Regions from separate parts of the Homo sapiens genome. Here region 2 is linked to region 1. Evidence: promoter capture Hi-C in human tissues and cell types (Jung and others, 2019). All regions are on one chromosome and are shown on one strand. The core of a region is centred on a gene start or on the middle of the fragment in contact, and the rest is flanking DNA. Distances in the headings are between cores, read along the strand shown. Region 1 holds the start of NET1 (neuroepithelial cell transforming 1). Region 2 holds the start of LINC02677 (long intergenic non-protein coding RNA 2677).

The links. The method cuts DNA at HindIII sites, captures the fragments that hold promoters and counts their contacts. A contact is called where the count stands out against the background at its distance.
Region 2: a fragment that was not itself captured here is called in contact with the fragment with the promoter of NET1 in region 1 in 4 of the 25 tissues and cell types used here (dorsolateral prefrontal cortex, mesenchymal stem cells, neural progenitor cells and 1 more).

The regions. Positions count from the first base shown.
Region 1 is chr10:5,409,201-5,414,973 of GRCh38, forward strand. It overlaps NET1 (neuroepithelial cell transforming 1), which reads left to right and starts at 3,357. Exons shown (of 12, transcript NM_001047160.3): 1 at 3,357-3,620. The coding sequence starts at 3,493. RefSeq lists a silencer at 3,269-3,698. The HindIII fragment of the contact is 9,279 bases long and covers 1-5,773 here.
Region 2 is chr10:5,615,312-5,621,084 of GRCh38, forward strand. It overlaps LINC02677 (long intergenic non-protein coding RNA 2677), which reads right to left and starts at 2,897. Exons shown (of 2, transcript NR_184032.1): 1 at 2,620-2,897; 2 at 1,307-2,089. The HindIII fragment of the contact is 7,810 bases long and covers 1-5,773 here.

The DNA.
Region 1 (5,773 bases), core at 2,107-4,606:
AGGTTTTGGAAATAATCTTTGAGGAAGTTCCCCAAAAGAATATTTGTTTTGCAAATCCATGGTTGAAAAAGTTTGGGTTACACTTTGCTCTAGTCAAGTTAGTAGGAATATCTTCTCAGAGAGGGAGTTCTAGAGTCTGATTTTATATATATGAAAGCTGAAATCAAAACAATTTCCTCAAACCCTATCCCGGTGAATATTTTAAGGGAGAAGGATGATTTGTGGGGAACTGAAAGAGAGAGGATTCAGAGAACATTTGTCATGGTTTTGGGACTGTTCTATACAGTGTAAGACATAGAACATGGGGACAATGGCATTCAGACACCAGAAAGTTGATCTCTTGTAAGATCAAGAGATGTCACCAGCCTTTCCCAGGTCTTCAATGACCAACCCTCAGAGCGGTCACTTTTCTTTGCTCTTCTTCTATGGTACCCAGCCATTTTCTGATGAAAATTTGTCTTCTATTCCTTATTTCCCTAATGTCTAGCACAGATCCTGGCATATTATAGCAGGAATTTAATAAATTCTTGTGAATAATTGAACAAAATCATAAGTTCTCAAGTGAATGAAAATTGGAAACAGTTGCTCTGCATAAAACAATAGTATTCAGGTCACTGGAAAGAAGTGCCCACCCCCACCACTGGAATCCCCACATTGACATCCTGCAGTATCTATCATTTTGTGAGTAGTTATTACAAGTTACCAAAGGACTGACCACCTCTGATGACACAATCAAAACCAGTTTCAGGACCTGCAAAGCTGAGGACAGACCCTGAATTCTGAGGATCTCACCGAAGTATGTTGAAACTATTAATATGAAACGGCTGTTTCTGTGGGTAAAAAGACCAAGCGTCAGCGATTCACATGGTCCTATCTTGTGAACAAAAGTTCTCTGAAAAGGAAGTTTGGAGAAAGGAGACTTTATTCTAGTGAACAGTTTGCAAACCAGGGAGACACAGCCTTCGGAGTAAAAGAAAGGTGATTCCAGAGAATAAAGGGGAGGGTTTGGCTTCTATAGAAAAAGTTCTTGTCCAGGTTTCCAATCAGATGTGTTTATGCAAAGGAAAGATTCAGACTTGCTCAGTTCAGATTGGGTAATACAGCTGAACCCTGATTGGATAAAGCAGATGAGTTCTGATCGGTTACATCAGGTGAGCCCTGATTGGTCAATTCGGGTAAATTGTGAAAATCCCAAAGGGGTGTGAGTTTTCTGGACACAGAGTAGTTGTGACCTACTTGGGACCTGACTTGAAGAATTGCTCTTACAGGTTTATTTTTGTTCATAATCTAAACATCTGCATCCTCTGAAGCTCTGTCTTGGTGGAGACCAACTCCCCAAATATTAAGAACATTTCTGTATTCTTACACTCTAACTGCTACAAAGCAGTACTTTCTTCTTTAATTTTTGGGGAGGGATGGGGAAGGTAGAACAGAAGTGGTTCTTGACCAAGGTCAACTTATGTTCAGAGCTGGTTCCTTCCGGTGGGTTCATGGTCTCGCTGACTTCAAGAATGAAGCCATGGACCTTCATGGTGAGTGTTACAGCTCTTAAAGGTGGCACAGACCTAAAGAGTGAGCAGCAGCAAGATTTATTGTAAAGAGTGAAAGAACTAAAGCTTCCACAGTGTGGAAGGGGACCCCAGTGGGTTGCCCTGCTGGCTGGGGTGGCCAGGTTTTATTCCCTTATATGTGCCCTCCCATGTTCCATTTTTGTCCTATCAGAGTGCCCTTTTTTCAATCCTCCCTGTGATTGGCTACTTTTAGGGTCCTGCTGATTGGTGCTTTTTACAGAGCACTGATTGGTGCATTTTACAATCCTCTTGCTAGCTACAGAGCACTGATTGGTGTGTTTTACAATCCTCTTGCCAGACAGAAAAGTTCTCCAAGTCCCCACTCTACCCAGGAAGTCTAGCTGGCTTCACATCTCAATGTTACTCCCTAATTTCTTACTCTTTTTAAAACAAAAACATTTTTCCCTCATGTTATAAAGGTACTGCAAATTCAATATGTCCTTATTTTTAAAAAAATTAAATGCAAAAAATAAAAATAAAAATTTTGAATACCTAAAGTCTACCTAGAGACATTTTAATACATTGACTTTTTAATACATTTAATACATTTTAATACATTATCTTTTTTCTTTGTATAATCTCTTGTAATTCATAACTTTGAATATACTGAATATACCTCTATACTTCATGTTTTTATTTCAAATTACCAGTATACTATTACATACTTCACACTTCATTTTTGTTGGCTGAAAATATTCTTCTCAGTGGATGAGCTATAAATCATTGTTTATTTAGGTTGTTTTAAATGTTTCTATTATAAACAATGTCATTAATAGCTTCATGTTTATATAATTTTATTTTTTAGGATAAATTTCCATAAGTGGAAATATACTGGCAAAAGAGAAGTGTTTTTTTGTTTTTTTTTTTTTGGAGACGGAGTCTCGCTCTGTCACTGGGCTGGAGTGCAGTGGCACGGTCTTGGCTCAATTCAAGCTCCGACTCTCTGGTTCAACTAATTCTCCTGCCTCAGCCTCCTGAGTAGCTGGGATTACAGGCATGCGCCACTCTGCCCAGCTAAGTTTTGTATTTTAGTAGCGACAGGGTTTCACCATGTTGGCCAGGATGGTCTTGATCTCCTGATCTCGTGATCCGCCTGCCTCAGCCTCCCAAAGTGCTGGGATTACAGGCGTGAGCCACAGCGCCCGGTCAGGAGAAGCTATTTTTAAAGACTTTGACACATATAAAGCAATATTTAAAATCAAAGAAAGTGTAATTTGTTTAACAATTTTTTTTTTACTTGAAGCGGTCTTTTATTTTATATTATGTCTTTTGCTGACTTTTACAAGCAAAGGATGAAGTCACTTCATTCTGTTTTGCTAGGGAGAGACTGTGTCATGCTTATTGGAAGACATAAGGGCTCATAATTAGATTTTGCTGGTTCCCTAGAGACAGTCCCGGGAACACACTTGCATAACCTTTGGTAATTGGAAATATATCTCATATTGGCCACGTGCACAATAATTCAGTGTGAATATGGCCAATAAACATGCCTTGTTTACAGGTCATTAGTTTGGACCTCTCTTCTCCTCAAATGCTAAGAAAGATCTGGTGAATTAAAATGCTTCCAGTCCATTTGCCTTGGCCTGTAGTGAAAGTCCTAATGAACAATGAAGGAGGTACCGGGCCTTAGGGACTCAGGGATGCGCTCAGGAGTTAAGGGCAAATTTTCCTAGGTTCTTTCCTAGGCAAGTAGATCCCGGGAGCGGTGGAGGGGCGGGACTCCACGTCTCCTAGGAACCGCTGCGCGCTCACTGATTGGCTGATCGCTGCTCAGCCGCCATTTTCAAATCCCCGGATGACGGCGGTGGCGGCTGCAGTCCGCTGACAGGCGCTTTCTGCCTGGCAGAGGCTGGCGGGCATCGTGCCCGTCCCTGCCGGTCTCCCGGGCACCCGGCCACCGCCCCACCCCCTCCTCCGTGCCATGGAGCCCGAGCTGGCGGCTCAGAAGCAGCCTCGACCGCGGAGGCGAAGCCGCCGGGCCTCTGGGCTCAGCACGGAGGGAGCGACGGGGCCTTCGGCCGACACCTCCGGGTCGGAGCTGGACGGGAGGTGAGTGTGGGGGAGGGGAGGGCCGAACGGGAGGTGAGTGTAGGGGAGCGGAGGGCCGAACGGGAGGTGAGTGTTGGAGAGGCAAGGGCCGGGGGGAGGGGAGGGCTGGCCGGGAGTTGGATGTGGGGGGCGGCGAGTGGGGGTGTTGGTGAGGGCCAGGGGGAGGCGAGGGCCGCTGGGAGGTGAGTGGGGGGTGGGGGAGGTGACCGCGGGGTTGGGGGGGGGGACGGGGGCCGCTGGAAGTGAGGGTGGCACAGGCTGGAGTGACAGTGTGCCTGGCCTTGGACCGAGGTCGGTCCTGAGACCCCAAACTGCGATTTTCCCTGCCTGTGGCAAAGGGGCGGGTTTATTGAGTCTCCTCGCCTCCTGACTGTTTCTCAGGGGAGACTTAGGAAAAACCACAATGGTTTTGTTCTGCACACCCAACTGGCTGTAGGCTGGCGTTCCCAAATGCCTTTGCTCAGACCGAAACTGTCATGGTGAGCACCACGAGAATGGGCTTCCATGTCCTGAGAAAGAAAAGACTAAGGGATAAGTTGACTTCGGGATATGTTATGAGATGCCTATTAGAGAGTTCATCACAACCATTTTCGTGTTTTTTCTTTTTACTTTTTGTGGAAGTATACATTGAAATGAGAGTGTATGACTCGTGTTTGGCTCAGTGAAATTTCACAAAGCGAAGCTCAGGGGATAGCTAGTGAATTAGGAGGAAGGGAACCAAGTGAGAACAGTATCCAGGAGGCCAAATGAAGAAAGAATTTCAAGAAGAGGACGTGGCGAGCTATGTCAGATGTTATTGATAGGTCAAATAAAATGAGGATTAAGTAAAATAAGATGAGGATTAAGCTAGATGAGGAATGAAAATTAAATTTGGTAATGAGAAGAGAGTATTGATCTTAGATGGTTTCCAAGAATGGTTACAATATCGAACTTAGAGTGTTTTGCAACAGGTTGAGAAGAGAATGTGCGATTTGTTCAGAAAATAATGTGAGTGCCAACACTAGGAATATGGAAATGGAAAAATACTCTTGTTACTATTTAAGATTTATAATCTAGTGGGGAAGAAAGATAAGTAGGTTAATAATTATTATAATATGTGATAAAAGTTATTATAGTGATATACACAGAATGCCGTAGATTAAAAGGAACACTTAATCCTGACTGGAGAGAATAGGAAATGATTTCCTATTGTAATCCCTGAGTCTTTAAGGACCAGTTTAGAGAGCAGATGTAAATGGATGATTTCAGGCAGAGAAGCATGTAGAAAGGCCCTGAAGCAAATGAGTCTGATGAGTTCTGGGTATATATTCTATTTTATTACTATATTAACAGTGATATTTGTATAGAGGAGAGGAAACCAATATGGGGAGAAGGAGGAGGTAGTCATGAGAGATGATGCTAAAGAGGTAAGCGCCACATCATGAAGAGACCTTGTATGCCTTGACAGAGTTTGGGTTTTATCTTCATGGTAATGGGGAAATACTGAAAGACTTTAAATGAGCCAATGGCATGACATATTTGCATTTTAAAAGATCAGTTTGCCTTCCATGAGAAAAATAAGCAACATTTTGGAGTCATCTCACTCTTCATATTTTATGAAAACTATTCCCCAAAAATGTGCACATATACATAAACATTTCAGGAGATTTGTGGACCCAGCTGTGTATACCAAATTAAAATTTCCAAGTTTAGCTGATGGATTGGTAGGAAATCAGTCTGCAGTAGTCTAAATGAAAAAATGATTGTTCGAATCTGATAGCTGGCAATGGGATTGGTGAAGAGAAGTTTCACTGCAACAGGAAGACAAGAAAGAATAGAGAGAAATAACACAATTTTGTGGGATAGACTCTTAAGAAAGAATAAATTCCCTTGATGTGCTGTGCTGAGTTAACAAATAGAGGGAGAGGTTGAACAGACAGTAGAGGAGAAAAATGGTTGAACAAGGATCCAAGAAGGCAGAAAAGGACAGAATCCAAATTCAAGGTAGAGGATTTAGCCTAACAAGAAGCTATGGATGATATATAGTTTTGAAGAATGGGGTGTGTTGTGAGCAGGAATTTGAGGACTTTCCCACCAGGCCTCTATTTTTTGTGTGAGGTAGGAAATGATACATTGTGAGAAAAGCGTAGTAACACAGGCAGCATGAGGAGAGT
Region 2 (5,773 bases), core at 2,069-4,568, 210 kb after region 1:
TAAAGCCAGGCTCTAACTTAAACACAGAGGCTACTTCAATAGGCCTGTTTTTCTCAGAAACATGAACATCTTCACTGAAAAGCCGTAGTTAGGTTCCTGTACACGTCACGTTGTATTGACACAGGAGGATGTGTAAACCTAGCCCAAAGCTTTAGGAAGAAGCAGCTCTCAGGGAGGATGCTGGAAAGCGCCCAGGGAAAGCACACCATGACCGCAGCAGGCACCCACAGACCCAGCATCAGAGCGCAGCTCTGTGAATGGTAATTTATTCCACGGTGACTGCAGGCCAGGCCTGTGCTGAGCAAGTTTATATTTTATTTCATTCTCCCAACAGCCTCTGAAATATTTTTATCTCCATATCCAAACCCATGCATTCACAGGCCCAGCCCCATCCAGCCTGGCCTCTCTGGTGTCCAGGCTTGGACTCTTAACCCCTGGGGTCCTGGGTTTGTCATCTGACTCCCGGACTCAGGGACTGCTGATGAGCTTCTTTTCTTCCAGGGTTTCAGCCTCCTTGTTTTGCAGTGGGTATCATGGTCAGCCATTCACCCAGGGAACGTCCATGGCCCGTGCCTGGCACCGCACTTAGGTAGCCAATGGGCCATGCTCTGAGCAGACTCCGGGTTGTTACAGAGATTAAGTGAGCTGATGTCCAGGGGTCACTCAGCACAGTGCCTGCCCATAGCTGGCACCCTGGATGGCAGCTAGCACGGCAGCTCCACAAAGCCTTCCGGGACCCCTAGACTCTCTTCTTCTGCACCAACTCCAGGACTTCATTTAGCCCCTATCATAAGCACAACTCTGCCCCTGCTTGCTAAGGCCCAGCTCTGACGCACCTTGTGTCAATGGTCAGTGTCTGGCAAAGGGCTTGTGGCAGAGAAGAGGCTCCAACATGTGGGTGGTCGGCTCCCCGAGTGCCGCCGATGCCCTGAGTGCCGTCCACCCCCCGGAGTGCCGCCCGCCTCGCTGAGTGCCGCCCATCCCCCTGAGTGCCACCCACCCCGCCGAGTGCCGCCCACCCAGCCGAGTGCCGTCCACCCCCCCGAGTGCCGCCCACCCCCCGAGTGCCGCCCACCCAGCCGAGTGCCGTCCACCCCCCCGAGTGCCGCCCACCCCCCGAGTGCCGCCCACCCCCCGAGTGCCGCCCACCCCCCCGAGTGCCGCCCACCCCCCGAGTGCCGCCCACCCCCCCGAGTGCCGCCCACCCCCCCGAGTGCCGCCCACCCCCCGAGTGCCGTCCACCCCCCGAGTGCTGTCCACCCACAACACGGTGCTGCCTCTCTTGCCAAGGCAAATTAAGACACCCTTTGGTACAGAATGAAACCGTTCTCTTTGAAGAACTGCATGTTTCCCCCAGTCATTTTTGTCCTGGGGGAGTCAAGTGTTTTTACGGACCCTTGAAGCTTGAGGACACTCTGGCATCACCCATTGTTGGGGTGACTTTCTGGTGATTATCAGTGAGCAAACTTCAAGGCCAGCTCCGATTAGGAAAATCTGCCAAGTGTGAGTTTCCTTGGAGCTAGGACTGGGCAGAGACCCCTGGTCCTTGGTCCGTAGGGAAGCTGGGGGATTTGGGGGGTAAGTAATGAGATCATGTCTGCAGAGGCCCCCAGCCTCTTGGAAGAAGATTCCGCTGTAATTTCTTGGAAAAAGCCAACTCCTTCCAGCCCTTTCTGCTCACACCATCTCAGTTTTCCTGTCTGGCTGCAGCCACCAACAGCAGCCACAGGATCTCGCCAAATTTCCATTTACTTGCTCTCTGGTCTTCTCATGCTGGCGCAGTCCTCCCCTCCGGACCACGAGAGCCAAGTGTAAATTGTGTGGTCCCAGCAATCATTCAATCCTGCAGATAGCTGTGTTAAGGGTGTCTGGGGACCTGGGGAAGGAGTGTGTTTTGTGTTTTGTTTTTATGCATTTCCTCACTCTGTCTGGATATGGGGATCTGGGGAGGGAGAGAGAAGGTAGGCTTTCTTCACAGGGGATGCTTACCTACTGGCGAGCACAGCGATCTGAGCTTTGGGGGCCTCCGTCGGCCCTCAGTGATGTGTGGTTTCCCTCATTGGCCTTCACTGGGGTTCCCCTCAGTGCACTAAGGTGGACATGGGAGAAAAAGCCCCGTGGCCCCCTAAACAAATCGACCCCAGATGCCATGGGACAGGGTTCCAATCCCGCCTCTCGTGTTGGTTTTCTTGGTGATGAACGACAAATCCCTTTTCATTTCTAGTTCTGATCCCCTCATCTTGGAGGTGCTTGTCCCTGTCTGGCATCCCACAGTTTTCTATGGGAATGTGAAGATGCTTCAGCGGGGCTGCTGCCCTAAGGAGCATCTGGGGCAGGTGGACCAGGGTGGATGCATCAGTCGTGAGGACAGTGAAGGGCCGCGGATGCGGCAGTAGAGAGGAGGGCTGGCTGGAGAAGATGGGAGAGCGGCAGTTCCCACGCAGAACAGCAGCAGGAGGGCCGGGGAAGATGAGCTGGACAGGTAAGTATGGCGGGCAAGCGGGTAAGCAGGTGAGCAAGTAAGCAGGTAGGCAGGTGAGCAAGTAAGCAGGTAGGCAGGCGGGCAGGTAGGCAGGGAAGCAGGCCCTTGAATACTGTGCTAAGGAGTTTGGGTTTTACCTTGAGGGTGAAGAGTTCTTAGCGGGATGTTGGTGGAGCCTGGCAAAACCAGAGGCACAGAGATGCTGCCAACTCATCTTGCAGAGCGCGTCTCAGACATTCCTAGCAAAGAGAAGGCCCTGGGAAATCCAGTGACTCTGAAACCTTCATGCAGAGATGTGCGTGGAGATCTCTAGAAAGGGCTGGAGCCAGAGGGATAATTTCCGAAAGCTTCACAGATGCTGTGCTTCTGAGCAAAGTCCACACTCTGCATCTGGGCAGTGCACACGCAACCATGCACCAACCACACCACTCTTTGCAAGGACCTCAGCTCCTCGCCCAAACGCCGCAGGGCAAGCCCAGGCAGGGCTCAGCATTCCACTCTGAAGGTGAAGCCATGTGCTTTAAAAGAAGGCAGAGGCTCTGTGGCTGTTTCTCTTCCCCTCGCTGGGAGGTGGGACAGGGTAGTGGTTAAGCGTGGGTTCCATCATCCAACATCTAGGTGGCAATCCCAGCTCTACTGTTTAACAGTGTGTGCCCTTATATGCATTTCTTAATTTCTCCGGGCCTCTTTCCTCATTATCAAACTCAGGATTGAGCGGATTTCTCTACTCTCTACACCTAGAAAGTAGTGGGTGTACCTCACTACATGGCTCGTCAGAAGACTACAATAAAATGTGCTGTTATCATGATCTGTTTCTCCAGCACTTTTCTTTTAAACTGTCTGGAGAGTTGAATGATAACAACAGGCCTTTTAAGAATTTTGGAGGTAGGAACTACAATGATTCCCAAGCTGCTGATGAGGAACCGAGCCTCAGAGGGTTAATAACATCCCAGGATCTCATGCCCCCAAAAAGGGCAAGGCTCGGGAGGTGGAAAGACTTCTCATCACCAAGTATCACAGGGAGAAGGTCAGCTCCAGACTGAGCCTTAAAAAGTGTGTCTTGTTCAGGAAGGAGGTTGAGAAAGTGGGTGGCCACATGCCCGGGCCCTGGAAGGCTCCCTGGACCAGGGCCTCACGGACAGACTGAGAAAGCCGCTCCTGGCCTGGGTCATGCCTGCAGGGCCCTCGCTAGCCTATGAAACCCCACGGGCCTGCACGTTTCCTCCACAAGCTGTGAGAGGCATCAGTATGTCCTCTCCGGAGTGACAAATGACACTCGACCCCGAGGCCCACGCAGGCTCGGTAATCAGTGACAGCTGCAGCAGCTGTTCTGCTGGCCAGGGGTCAAGGTCCCAGGCAGCTTCTCCTTATGGGGTATAACCTGATTGCACTGCAGCTCTGAGCTGCCCCAGGAGCCCCGTGCACAGAGCCTGAGACTATGTCAAGCCCATCTGTCAATCTGGAAGAGCCCACCTCTCAATCTATGGAAAGAGACCGGAACAGTGCAGGTGCCCACTCAGTGCTGAAATGATCAAGGAGTAAATGAGTGAGTGAGTGAAGGAATGCATGAATCCTTCCTCCTCTTCCCTCGTAAGAGACAATCTCCAAGCAGCAATTGCCCCACCCTCATGGGCTTTTCCAGAACTGTGTGAGAAGAAAGGAGCTGCTCAGTGTCAGGGACACCCCTCCAAGTCCCACAGACCACAGTAGCAGGCATCTGACTCATGCCAGACCTGTCCTCCTGCAGGGAGCACACATACCCACCTGCCCCTGTGTGGTCGGCAGCCATGCCCCTGAGCCCTAGAGGCAGCGGGGAGCAAGATCTCCAAGCCCCAGCTCCACACTGATGGCTGCTCCTGGACAAGGATGCAGGGACCTGGAAAGAAAGGACAATCCCCCACCGAAGGAAGCGGAGGGGCCGGGATTTGAGGTTACAGCATGGAAGGAAAGAGCTGAGCTTCAAAGGCCGCAGAAGAAGAACAGGCGGAGTTAACAGGAAAAACCACAGTCAGGCCCTCTGGGAGAGGCTGGGGTTGCATGGAGGGCTGAGGAGGGGGAAGAGGGGCCAGGACTGGCAAAGGCTGCCTGACAGTCTGCCCTCCAGACAGCCACTTCCTCCCCTGTGCCTGCTCCATGTGGGAAGCCCTATGGGGGCTCAACTTTCAGCCCTGCTTCGGAGTGGGGGGACTGTCTCCTCCCTTGTCGCTCCCCATTCTCACCCCCACCCCCAACAGAGACCCCTTTCTGCAAGGCCAGGAGTGAGCGCACGGCATCAGACCCTTGCATCAGAGCCCTGGCACGTCCTTGTTTTCAGTGGTTTGGAAGTGAATCGTCTCTAGGTTTGTGTTGAGGCCAAGATACACGTTTTTCCTTTTCTCCGCTTTCCTTTCTTGTGCCTTGTTATGACTGGCTTTGGAGCCTGGCTTACAGGGAGGGGGGATGGAGAATGGGCAGGCTGTGGGGGAGGTGGCTGGGGTCCCAGGGAGGGAGGTCTCGGGACACCTGCCCTGCCAAAGTTAAGGCTACTGGGCAGGTGACCTTGGCCTCCAGGTCAGGGAAGCTGGAGGTATCTCATGGGCCACAGAGTCCCAGGATCCACAGAGGAAGGAGGAGGGAGCCGCTGGGAAAGTGGTTTAGGCTTAGGTGGTTGATGAGTGCGTGGGACAGGGGGAGGAGGAAGAAATGGGGAGGCTGCCACATGGCAGAGGAGGAACCCACACTCCGGAGAAACTCACTTTGTGTTCCAGCCTCCACTCGGAGCCGAGCGTCATCCCACCCACCCCGGGCTGGGTGTTTCTCCTTCACTTGGGAAAACCAAAAGGCAGAATTGAGGTTGCGGCCTCCAGAGCCCATCAGGACAAAAGACATGCCCTGAGCGCCCTGCACCAGCCCTGAGCTGAGTGGCGGCCCCACCAGCTGGCCCTTAGGGCTGAAAGCAAGAGCAGGCACGTGGGAGCTACCCAGGGTCTCGGGGTGCTGTGGAAGGTGCACCCCCACCAGCCTTCCACAGCCACCACATCCCAGGAGAGGCCAAGACACGCCCCAGACCAAACAGAAGACGGGAAAATGCTGGTTCTGAAAAATGTTTACATTCTCCTTCCCAGAATTCCAAGATACTAAGATGTCCTAAAACAAAAAGAAATGAAAAGATAGGAGGGAAAACACCCATTGATGAAAATGATTCATTCCCTCGATACATTTCTACAAAACGAACCCGGAGCAGGACCCAGAACTCTGCGTTCATCCGTCAGCACCCAGCTAACTCCTCCACACCCCTGTTCGGGGCCGGAT